Regions from separate parts of the Homo sapiens genome. Here region 1 is linked to region 2. Evidence: promoter capture Hi-C in human tissues and cell types (Jung and others, 2019). All regions are on one chromosome and are shown on one strand. Each heading gives the region's core, a stretch centred on a gene start or on the middle of the fragment in contact. The rest is flanking DNA. Distances are from core to core; before and after follow the strand shown.

The links. Contacts are between HindIII fragments. The study calls those that stand out against the background at their distance.
Region 1: a contact is called between a fragment that was not itself captured here and the fragment with the promoter of NMUR1 in region 2, in 7 of the 25 tissues and cell types used here (bladder, lymphoblastoid cells, mesenchymal stem cells and 4 more).

Annotation. Positions count from the first base shown.
Region 1 is chr2:231,584,101-231,590,093 of GRCh38, forward strand. It overlaps the pseudogene RPL23AP26. Among named protein-coding and RNA genes, the nearest start is that of TEX44, 5.8 kb to the right of the region's middle. The HindIII fragment of the contact is 4,173 bases long and covers 434-4,606 here.
Region 2 is chr2:231,526,735-231,532,117 of GRCh38, forward strand. It overlaps NMUR1 (neuromedin U receptor 1), which reads right to left and starts at 3,711. Exons shown (of 3, transcript NM_006056.5): 1 at 3,625-3,711; 2 at 1,389-2,283. The coding sequence starts at 3,627. RefSeq lists enhancers at 1-13, 1,119-1,646, 1,647-2,173, 4,663-5,383 and a silencer at 3,539-3,968. The HindIII fragment of the contact is 18,375 bases long and covers 1-5,383 here.

The sequences.
Region 1 (5,993 bases), core at 1,270-3,769, 56 kb after region 2:
GCCAGGAGCCCACGATCCTGTCCCGAGATTTGCCGAAACCGCAGGGGACCAGCATCTCTTTGAACTGGCCTGAGCTGTTAGGAAGGATGCCTGGAGCGCTAGCAGCCTCCGCATGGAGGAAATCCCCCTGAAAATCTAGCCATCAATGACAAAGGGAGCAAAGAGAAGAGAAAGAACCGAATCCCTGACAGCGTCATGAGCACCTGCTGTGTAGACCCTTTCCTCCAGGCTTTACAGGTTCCTGTGAGCCAAGAAATTTCTTGATTTTTGTTATTTTTGCAGAAGTCAATTTGATTTGGGTTTCTATAGCTTCCAGCTGAAAGAGTATGGGCAAATAAATACACATAGTGTGCATAAAATATTGCATCCTGCTTTTTAAAATATTTTATTTTTTGAGACAGGTTCTCACCCTGTTTCCCAGGCTAGAGTGCATTGGTGCTATCCTAGCTCTCTGCAGCCTCAACCTCCCAGGTCAAGTGATCCTCCTGCCTCAGCCTTCTGAGTAGCTGGGACTATGGGTGCATGCCACCACACCTGGTCCTAATTTTTTTATTTTCGTATTTTAATTTTATTTATTTATCTATTTATTTATTGACGCAGTAATAAATGTTACCCAGGCTAGAGTGCAGTAGCATGATCTCAGTTCACTGCAACCTCTACCTCCCAGGCTGAAGTGATCCTCCCTCCCACCTCAGCCTCCAGAGGAGCTGGGACCGCAGGTGCACACCACCACGTCCGGCTAATTTTGTTGTTGTTGGAGAGATGGGGTTTCTTCATGTTACCCAGGCTGGTCTCCTTCCACCCACCTTGGCCTCCCACATGCTGGGATTGCAGGCATGAACCACCATATCTAGCCTTATTTTTTGAGATGGGGTCACACTCTGTTGCCTAGGCTGGAGTGCAGTGGTGCAATTACAGCTCACTGTAGCCTCGAACACCCGGACTCAAATAATCCTCCCGCCTTGGCCTCCCAAAGTGCTGGGACTACAAGTGTGAGCCACCACGCCCAACCTCCTGCTTTTTAAAGTAACATTATATAACAATCTTTTTCCATGTTTCTGTACAGGCTTTATACAGCTTCATAATATTCCATAAACTGAGTTTACCCTAAAATAAGAGTATTTAATTATTTAATTCGAGAGTCATTCTCCCCAAGAGAAAGGAGTTGAGGGCCAGGCACGGTGGCTCATGCTTGTAAATCCCAGCACTTTGGGAGGCTGAGGCAGGCGGATCACTTGAGGTCAAGAGTTCGAGACCAGCCTGGCCAACATGGCAAAACCCCATGTCAACTAAAAATACAAAAATTAGCCGGGCATGGTGGCAGGTACCCGTAATCCCAGCTACTTGGGAGGCTGAGGCAGGAGAGTTGCCTGAACCCAGGAGGCAGAGGTTGCAGTGAGCCAAGATCACTCACGCCACCGCACTCCAGCCCGCAACCTGGGGGACAAGAGTAAGACTTCATCTCAAAAAAAAAAAAAATTAGCCAGGTGTGGTGGCAAATGCCTGTAGTCCCAGCTACTTGGGAGGCTGAGGCATGAGAATCGCTTGAACCTGGGAGGCAGAGGTTGCAGTGAGCCGAGATCATGCCACTGCACTCCAGCCTGGGTGACAGAGTGAGACTCCATCTCAAAAAAAAAAAAAAAAAAAAAAAAAAAAAGAGAGAGAGAGAGAAAGGAATTGAAAAGAAAGCAAAGGCAAATTATTTGAGACGAATTTCCTCTTATGAGAACTACTTAATAAAGGTAGAGAACTCTTTTTACAAGATGATGCCAAAGGCAAAGAAGGAAGCTCTTGCCCCTCCTAAAGCTGAAGCCAAAGCAAAGGCTTTGAAGGCCAAGAAGGCAGAGCTGAAAGGTATCCACAGCCACAAAAAAAAGATCTGCACGTCACCCACCTTCCAGCGGCCCAAGACACTGCGACTCTGGAGGCGGCCCAGATATTCCCAGAAGAGCATCCCTGGGAGAAATAAGCTTGGCCACTGTGTTATCATCAAGTTTCCGCTGACCACTGAGTTGGCCACGAAGAAGACAGACGACAACAACACACTGTGTTCATTGTGGATGTTAAAGCCAACAAGCACCAGATCAAACAGGCTGTGAAGAAGCTCTATGACATCGACGTGGCAGTGGTCAACACCCTGAATAGGCCTGATGGAGAGAAGAAGGCATATGTTCAACTGGCTGCTGATTATGATGCTTTGGATGTTGCCAACAAAAATGAGATCATGTGGTTGGGCACGGTGGCTCACACCTATAATCCCAGCACTTCGGGAGGCCGAGGAGAGTGGATCACCTGAGGTCAGGAGTTTGAGACCAGCCTGGCCGACATGGCAAAACCCTGTCTCTATTAAAAATACAAGAAAATAAGCCAGGTGTGGTGGTGCGCTCCTGTAGTCCCAGCTACTCAGGAGGCTAAAACAGAAGAATCACTTGAACCCAGGAGGCAGAGGTTTCAGTGAGCTGAGATCACATCACTGCACTCCAGCCTGGGCCATAGAGCAAGACTCTGTCTCAAAAAAAACAAAAAAAAAGCCAGGCGCGGTGGCTCACGCCTGTAATCCCAGCACTTTGGGAGGCTGAGGCGGGCGGATCACCTGAGGTCAAAAGTTTGAGAACAGCCTGACCAACATGGAGAAACCCCATCTCCACTAAAAATACAAAATTAGCTGGACGTGGTGGCGCATGCCTGTAATCCCAGCTACTCGGGAGGCTGAGGCAGAAGAATCACTTGAACTCGGGAGGAGGAGGTTACGGTGAGCCAAGATCGCGCCATTGCACTCCAGTCTGAGCAACAAGAGTGAAACTCTATCTCAAAAAAAAAAAAAGGGATCATCTAAACTGAGTCCAGCTGGCTAATTCTAAATATATATATATCTTTTCACCAGAAAAAAAAAAATAAAAGTAGGAAAGTTTTTAACTAAGATGGAGAAAACTTTCATATATATTTTATTTTGTATTTTATTTATGTACAGAATATATCTAAAATATATATTGTCCACATAACAGAATAAATATATTTTGTTCTATACTGATCTCATTTAATATTTATTTACAAATAAATAATCCTTTATTTTTTGTTCCCCAATTTTAATAAATCTCTCTGCCTTTGACATCAGTGCCTATTCATTCCACTGTAGCCTTCCTTGGGCACGATTTTCAAGCATATGAAACTTTTTTTTTTTTTGAGATGAAGTTTCACTCTTGTTGCCCAGGCTGGAGTGCAATGGTGCAACCTCGGCTCACCACAACCTCCGCCTTCCAGGTTCAAGCAATTCTCCTGCCTCAGTCTCCTGAGTAGCTGGAATGACAGGTGCACCACCAAGCCCAGCTAATTTTGTATTTTTAGTAAAATGGGGTTTATCCACGTTGGTCAGGCTGGTCTCAAACTCCTGATCTCAGGTGATCCACCCGCCTCGGCCTCCCAAAGTGCTAGGATTACAGGCGTGAGCCACCATGCCTGGCCCAAGCATATGAAATGTAACAAGGGTCAACATAAAGTGCAACATGTAGAATCAAAAGCTGAATTCCAAATACAGAGTTTGTCCTTGGTGCCTATAAGGTGCATGATGGTTTTAGTGGGCCACATGAGGGGACATCAGAAACTTTCTATTCTCAACACACACACACAAAGTAAGAAAGAAAGAAAATGGCCAGGTGCGGTGGCTCATGCTTGTAATCCCAGCATTTTGGGAGGCCAAGGCAGGCAGATTGCTTGAGCCCAGAAGTTCAAGACCATCCTGGGCAACATAGTGAGACTCCATCTCTACAAAATATTTAAAAATCAGCCAGCCATGGTGCACACACCTGTAGTCCCAACTACTCAGAGGCTGAGGTGGGAGGATCCCTTGAGCCCAGGAGGTCAAGGCTGCAGTGAGCTATGATTGTACCACTGTACTCCAGCCTGGGCAACATAGTGAGACCCTGTTGAAAGAAAACAAGAAAAAAGAGAGAAGGGGGAAGAGGAAAGAAAGAGAAAGAAAAGAGAAGAGAAGAGGAGGGAAAAGGAGGGAAGGGAAAGGAAGGGAAGGGAAAGGAAGGGAAGGGAAGGGAAGGGAAAGAAAAAAGAAAAGAAAGAGGGAGGGAGGAAGGAAGGAGGGTGGGGGAAGGAGGGAGGGAGGGAGGGAGATGGAAACTATACGAGGTGAGGGATATGTTAATTAGCTTGATTGTAGTGATTATTTCACAGTCTAATGTACAACAAAACATTAAGTCAGCCAGGCACAGTGGCTCACGTCTGTAATCCTAGCACTTTGGGAGGCAGAGGCAGGTGGATCACGGGTCAGGAGTTCAAGACCAGCCTGGCCAAGATGGTGAAACCCCGTCTCTACTAAAAATACAAAAATTAGCCAGGCTCGGTGACAGGCGCCTGTAATCCCGGCTACTTGGAAGGCTGAGGCAGGAGAATCGCTTGAACCCGGGGGCCGGAGGTTGCAGTGAACTGAGATCGTGCCACTGCACTCCAGCCTGGGTGACAGAGTGAGATTCCATCTCAAAAAAAAAAAAAAATTAAGTCATATATAGGTTTTTATTTCCTGGGTAAAGATAGGGAGCGGGGAGAACTTTCTAACTAAAAGCAGGGAGCTGTGTGGGGTGTGGGGCTTTGGAGTCAGGCAGATGCCACTGACCTTGCTATGTGCTTGGCTTCTCTAAGCCTCAGTTTCCTCATCTGAAAAATGGGGAAATAACCCCTGCCCAGCGTCAGGCCTACTGACACTCAGTGCCATATGCTACTCTTGATTGTTTAGGACTGGAAGATATTCAAGCAAACACGGACCAACCACTTGACAGGGATCTCATAACTGTTAGAATTGGATTAGGATTACGTTTAGCTGCATGTAATAGAAAACCAAAAATAATCATTTGGGCACATATAGTGTTATTTTCCCTCACATAAAGGAATTTGAGAGGTTGGCGATAGTCTGGTCTGGTGGCTGCCGGACAGCTCCAATCATGGGACCCAGGGTCCTTCCATCCTTGCTTGGTCCACCCTCTTACTGTGTGCCTTCCACCCTCAAGATTACCTAGAGGGTTGCTAGACCAGTCCTCTTGCTGGACCAAGAGGGTTGCTGTTGCTCCAGCCTTCACATTCCTGATAGGGGGAAGAGCAAAAAGATGTTAAACTCTTTGAAGGATCCTTTCTGAAGTTCGACTCAATACTTTCTGCTTACTTCTCAATGGCCAGAACATGGTCACATGTTCTTACCTACCTGCAAAGGAGGCTGGGAAATGTGTTCTTTTAGCTAAGACACAGAGGCCCTGAATAAAATCAGGGTCCTGACACTAAGTGTCAAAAGACAAAATTACAAGTTTAGTTTAAAGCTCTCAATTGGCTTTGTGATTCTAGAATCAGGCAACACTTGATTTCCTAAAATAGAATAAGGGTTCCAATGAATCAAGCAGTGAAAGTTGGCTTTATAGACAGGAAGAGGGTGGAAAAAAGCAGAAACTAAAAACAAAAACCAGGCTAGGTGCAGTGGCTCACACCTATAATCCCAGCACTTGGGAGGTGAGAGGTTCGCTTGAGCCCAGGAGTTAGAAACCAAGCTGAGCAACATGGCGAAATCCCATCTCTACAAAGAATTTAAAAAATAGCCGGACATGTTGGCACGTACCTATAGTCCCAGCTACTCAGGAGGCTGAGGCTGGAGGAGTGCTTGAGCCCAGGAGTTCAAGACAGAAGAAAAAAAATTAAAACGGAGGGAACTTCATTATCGTGCCACTTGAAGATTGAAACTGGCCTGTTTCTGTCATGTCAGCACTTTGGGAGGCTGAAGTGGGCAGATTCCTTGAGCCCAGGAGTTCGGGACCAGCCTGGGCAACATGGTGAAATTCCATCTTTACAAAAAGTAAAAACAAAATTAACTAGGTGTGCTAGAATGTGCCTGTATTCCCAGCTACTTGGGAGGCTGAAGTAAGAGAATTGCTTCAGCTCGGAGTTGGGATCACACACTGAACTCCAGCCAAGGCCACAGAGCAAGATGCTGTCTCAAAAAA
Region 2 (5,383 bases), core at 2,461-4,960:
CTCTGCTGACCTGGCTCACCCCACTGGCCTGATTCAGGCTCTGCTGAGGTGGGGCTGAGCTGGGATGCAGGTAGGTGGATGGGGCGGATCTTTGATCGGCTTAGTATCAGTTTGTCTTGCTTCCCCAGGGCCACAGCTTTTGAAAAAGAGCCAGGTCCAGGCCACAGAGATCCAGAGCCTCATCCCAGTACCTTAGCCTGCCCTAATCCGCAGGCCTCTGGCCTGATCCCCTGTGCCTTGAGCCCGGCCTTCACAGACACGCCTCGGGATGGGGCTGTTTAGACAAATGGTCTCTCCTGCGGTTCCCAGGGAACCGCAGACATGGCATGGGGGAAATTCAGCACCTGGCCTCTCCAACACCCTCCTCCCCTTCTCTGGGGGACTTTGCTCCCCCCAGATCTCACTGTGTAGTTCCACTGGGGGCTGTGCACCTCGGCATCCTGCCACTCTGGCTCAGGAGGTGGGGCATGACCTAGGCCACGCCCATCAGAATCCTTCTTGGGATTTTTCACTCATCTCTAAGGAAAGACAGCAGTTCCTCAGGAAAGAAGATGGCGTGCCGGTGGCCATGCCTCACAGGCTGCTGCCGAGAAGAACAAGGCCAAGACACGTTAATAACCAAAGAGAGCCGGGTGCAATGGCTTATGCCTGTAATCCCAGCACTTTGGGAGGCTGAGGTGGGAGGATCACTTGAGACCAGGAGTTCAAGATCCGCTCTGGCAACATAGTGAGACCCCGTCTCTACAAAAATGAAAAAATTAGCTGGGCATGGTGGCACCTGCCTGTAGCCCCAGCTACTTAGGAGGCTGAGTGAGGTAGGAGGATCGCTTGAGCCTGGGAGGTTGAGGCTGCAGTGAGCCGTGGTCACACCACAGCCTGAGTGACAGAGCAAGACCCTGTCTCAAAAAAAAAAAAAAAAAAAAAAAGAAGAGGAGAGACCTGAGACCTGGAGGGTCCAGATCCCATTTTCTGTCATCCTGGAGCCCAACCACATGCCCTGCCCTTTCTGTGTTTTGGTTCCAGAGCCAGGGCCCCAAGTTTAGCAGGGTCCTGGGCTTGGTTTAATGCTCTGTTGTTGCTGTCTTGACATTCTTATTCATTTTTGAAAAAGGGACCCTGAATTTTCATGTTGCACTGGACTCCACAAATTACACAATCTTACCGTTAGCCATTAACAGGTATTTTTGGTGTAAGATTCTAGTAGGGTAATCTAAAAGAGTACACAGGAGTGCAACTCAGACACACACACACACACACACACACACGAGACTAGAGGAGTTCCTCGTCCCCCATAAACCCAGATACTCAGCCCCTTCTCCCAGGCCCCAGGAGCCCCAAACTCATACCCAGTGCCTGGCTCAGCCCCTCTTCCCAGCCGTGACACTTACACAGCATCTTGGTCACTTGTCTCCGGCCCCGATCGTGCTGCTGGAGCCTGCAGGTGTATCTGGACCTGGCTGCTGCAGAGCCCCTGCCCTTGGCCTCCTGCATGAGCAGCAGCCTCTCCCGCCGCAGTCGCAGCCCAATGAGCAGGTAGAGCACGCTCATGATGGCCATGGGCAGGCAGAAGAAGAGCAGCGCGGTGGTCTGCACTACCATGTTGTAGAGGGCCCGTGGGCGGACCAGCATGCAAACAGCTGAGTCTGGCACTGGGCCCCGGCAGGGCACGTGCAGCTGCCGGATGCCGTGCAGGCTGGTGTTGGGCAGGGAGCAGAGCATGGCAAGACCCCAGACGGCCCCAAGCACTCGGCGCACATGGGCCCGCGTCACCATGGACCTGGCCTGGAGTGGGTGCACCACGGCCACATAGCGTTCCACGCTCAGGGCAGTGACGTTGAGCACTGAGGCCAGGCAGACCATCTCAAACAGTAGCGTGCGGAAATAGCAGCCACCAACGCCCAGCAGGAAGGGGTAGTTGTGCCACATCTCATAGAGCTCCAGGGGCAGGCCCACCAGCAGCACCAGCAGGTCCGACACGGCCAGGCTGAAGAGGTAGTAGTTGGTAGGCGTGCGCATGGCCTTGTGGCGCAGGATGACCAGACAGGTCAGCCCATTGCCCACAGCGCCCACCACGAAGATCAGCAGGTATGTGGCACAGATGGGCATGAACAGCTCTGTCTGCTGGGGCCCCAGGTACTTGAGTCTCAGTGCCTCGTCAGTCAGGTTCAAGTCCTCAGGGTCAAAGTGCCCCCTGGCCGCACTGCCATTGCAAGCCATGGGGTTCCTTGCACCCCCTGGGTACAGGTCTCCAGGGAGGACAGAGCAATTGAGGCAGAGAGGAGTCTGTGGAACAGAGGGGAGAGATGCCCAGAAAGATCATTCAGGGAATGCTGGCTCTGTCCTCACTCATCAAGCCAAAGGTGACATTAGCGCTATGATGACCATTATTTTAGGCACCACTGAGAAAGAAAAAACTCTTCCATCCACAAGTCAGAGATGTAAAAATAAGCTTGGTGCAGTGGCTCACACCTGTAATCCCAACACTTTGGTCGAGGCAGGCGGATCACTTGAGATCAGGAGTTCAAGACCAGCCTGGCCAATATGGTGAAACCCCGTCTCTACTAACAATACAAAAAGTAGCCGGGCGTGGTAGCACACGCCTGTAATTCCAGCTACTTGGGAGGCTGAGGCGGGAGAATTGTTTGAACCCAGGAGACAGAGGTTGCAGTGAGCGGAGATTGTGCCACCGGACTCCAGCCTGGGCAACAGAGAAAGACCTTGTCTCAAAAAAACAAAAAGCAAACAACGAAAAAGTAAAAATCTACATTTAAAAAAAAAAAAACACGTGGGGTTTTGATTTTAAATTTCATGATCTATTGGAACCTTTGAGTAAATGACAGATCTTGGGTGTCTCCTCTTTCAAGCAATGATGCTAGATGAGGCACTCGTTTGGGCATCTGTAAAATGGGCACAATGCCTGGTATTGCAGGGTCTTCAAGAGCAAGCGCTCAGGAAGCAACTGCCTGGATTCGAATCCAGCCTCCCCAGTTCCAGGCTGTGTGACCTTTAGCGAGGTAACCTCTCTGAGGCTGTTTCCCTATTAGGAGGATCCAGGGAGTTTAATCCATTAAAGACATTAACACAGGGCCTGCCTGGCATACGGAAGGGCACGGGGATCACCCCCTTGCTCTGGGGACCCAGTCACTATGAGAGTCAAGTGAGGGAGTGTCAAGGCTACACACTACAAATGCTTCATCCACAAGTTGATTCTTTTTTCTGTTTTCTGTCACCTGAACTGTTCAGTCTCCATATTTGACGCCCTTGGCACTGCCAGTTCTGGGGTTCCCTCTCCTCTATTGAGCCCCACACCCTTCCTCCCGCCCGCCCTCACCCCCGCTGCACAGCAGCGCGGGAGCCTCGGGAACCAGTTGGGAACGCGCAGGCGCCAGCCCGGGTTCAAGGGAGGCGCCCTGGTCCTCGAGGAAGGGTCGCAAGCCCGCAGCCCCCCGGCGCCCCTGGCCGGAAGACACAAATGACCCGAGAAGTTGCGAGGCTCCCCGGTGGCGGGGACGGGGGGCACCCCGACGGAGCCCTCGGACCCTTCCCGCCCTAGGACGACCCTGCCCGCACCGAGCCCCGGCCCAGCTGCCGCGCCCTAGCCCACGCCGGCGCCTGCGCACCTACCATGCGGCCCGCGGCCCGCGAGACCCCGGCTTCCACCCTCCGAGCGACGGACACAGACGCGGCGCGGGAGCCAGTGGACTGACTGACAGCGGCCCCAGCCCGCGCCCCGACGCCCCGCCTGTCCGGCCGGGAACGCCGCCAGGGGGCAGTGCAGTCCCCGCAGCCCGGGCGGCGCCCCCTCCCGCACTGGCGGAGGACGCGGCCGTTGGAGGCGACACCTCCACAAGCAGCGTGGAGGCGACACCTCCACAAGCAGCGTTATCTGACGGAACCCTCACAACAACCCGTTTTACAGATGAGAAAACTGAGCCTCAGAGAGCCGCAGAGGAGGAGCCCGAGAGACCTGGGGCTCACATGTGATTCCCGCCCTCCAGCGTGCTGAGTTTAGCTTAACGCCGTCACGGTGTCCCTGCGGCCTCCAGCTCCTCCTGCCCCCCATTCAGACCCACCTCCAAGGACAGGGACGGCCCACCAGCCCCTTGAAGTCGACATGCCCCGGTGCGGTTCATCCTCCCAGGCTCCAGGCCTCTTCTTCTGTCCCAAGGCCCATGATTGCAGCCTCCGCAGCCCCTCTCACCCGCTGCTCCCTTCGGGGCCTCCAGTCCCTGAGTCCAGGCGCTCGGCCCTGCAGGACTGGGCAAGAGCCCCCTATTCTCCCTCCAGTCCATCCTCCCACAGCCACCAACGACCATCACCCCCTCGAAACCCTTCCTTGGGGCCCCCCCACTGCCTTCTGAAAAAGAGCACACCAAAGTCTAGCCTGGGGGTGGACCTCCCCACTCCTCACCTGCCTCCCTGGGCCACCCTCTCCTCACCATTGTCCTCAGCCCCAAATACTGTCCCCCTTATCCGTTCAAATGTTCTTCTGCCCCCATCACTGTACCAAGGGTGGGGGTATAGACAAGGATGGAGGGAATTTAGGGAAGGGTTAAGAATGCCCAGCCACAGCCTCCTGCTCCCCCACACTGCCCACATGCAAATCCCAGTGCCTCACCTGCTCCCACTCCCTAGTCCTGCAATCAGCTCCTTAGCTGGAAGCTGTTTCATCAGAAACTTCTAGGGACCCTAGAAATGACGGATCACACAGAGTAAAATGCTGGTTCCGGGGCCTTTGCCCAGAGTTTTGTCTCCTTAGCCTGGGCAAGGCCCAGAAATCCTCATGTTTGACAAACGCCCTCTGGAGAGCCCCATGCCCCAGAATCACACTGAGGAGCACCAGGAGAGGTTACAAAGCCACAGGACCCCGAGAGGCCACCGTGAGCTCAGAAGCTCTGTGTGCCTCAGTTCCCCTTCCTGTAGAATGGGCTAACCACCATCGCCACTATTGTGAAGGTGACATGAGACACTGAGCGTCAAGATTCAGCACAGGGGCTGGCACATGGCCAACACTCAAGAAATGTGGGGTGGGATTGTCACCATTTAGTGGCAACTGGAGGCTCCTCCTTCCCCCCGCTTTCCTGCACCCTCCTCCTCCCCACTGCCCCCCAATTCCATAAGTCACTGTCTGGGCTTGGGGATGGGAGTTAGGCCCTCAAGGAGCCTGCACCAGGCCGGCCTTCCCAGGAACTCCACATGTAAACAGAGTCCCAGGCAGGGGACGGTTGTGGGAAGTGCAGGGGCACGTGGTCCTCAGGGCCTTGGGAGAAAGGATTCTGTGGTGCCCTGGGAATTAACTACTCAGCCCCTGATGAGCTAGTCCAGGAGAAATCCTCAGTAACAGGGCTGCCAGCACAACAGACGGGCAAGGAGGGATGACATC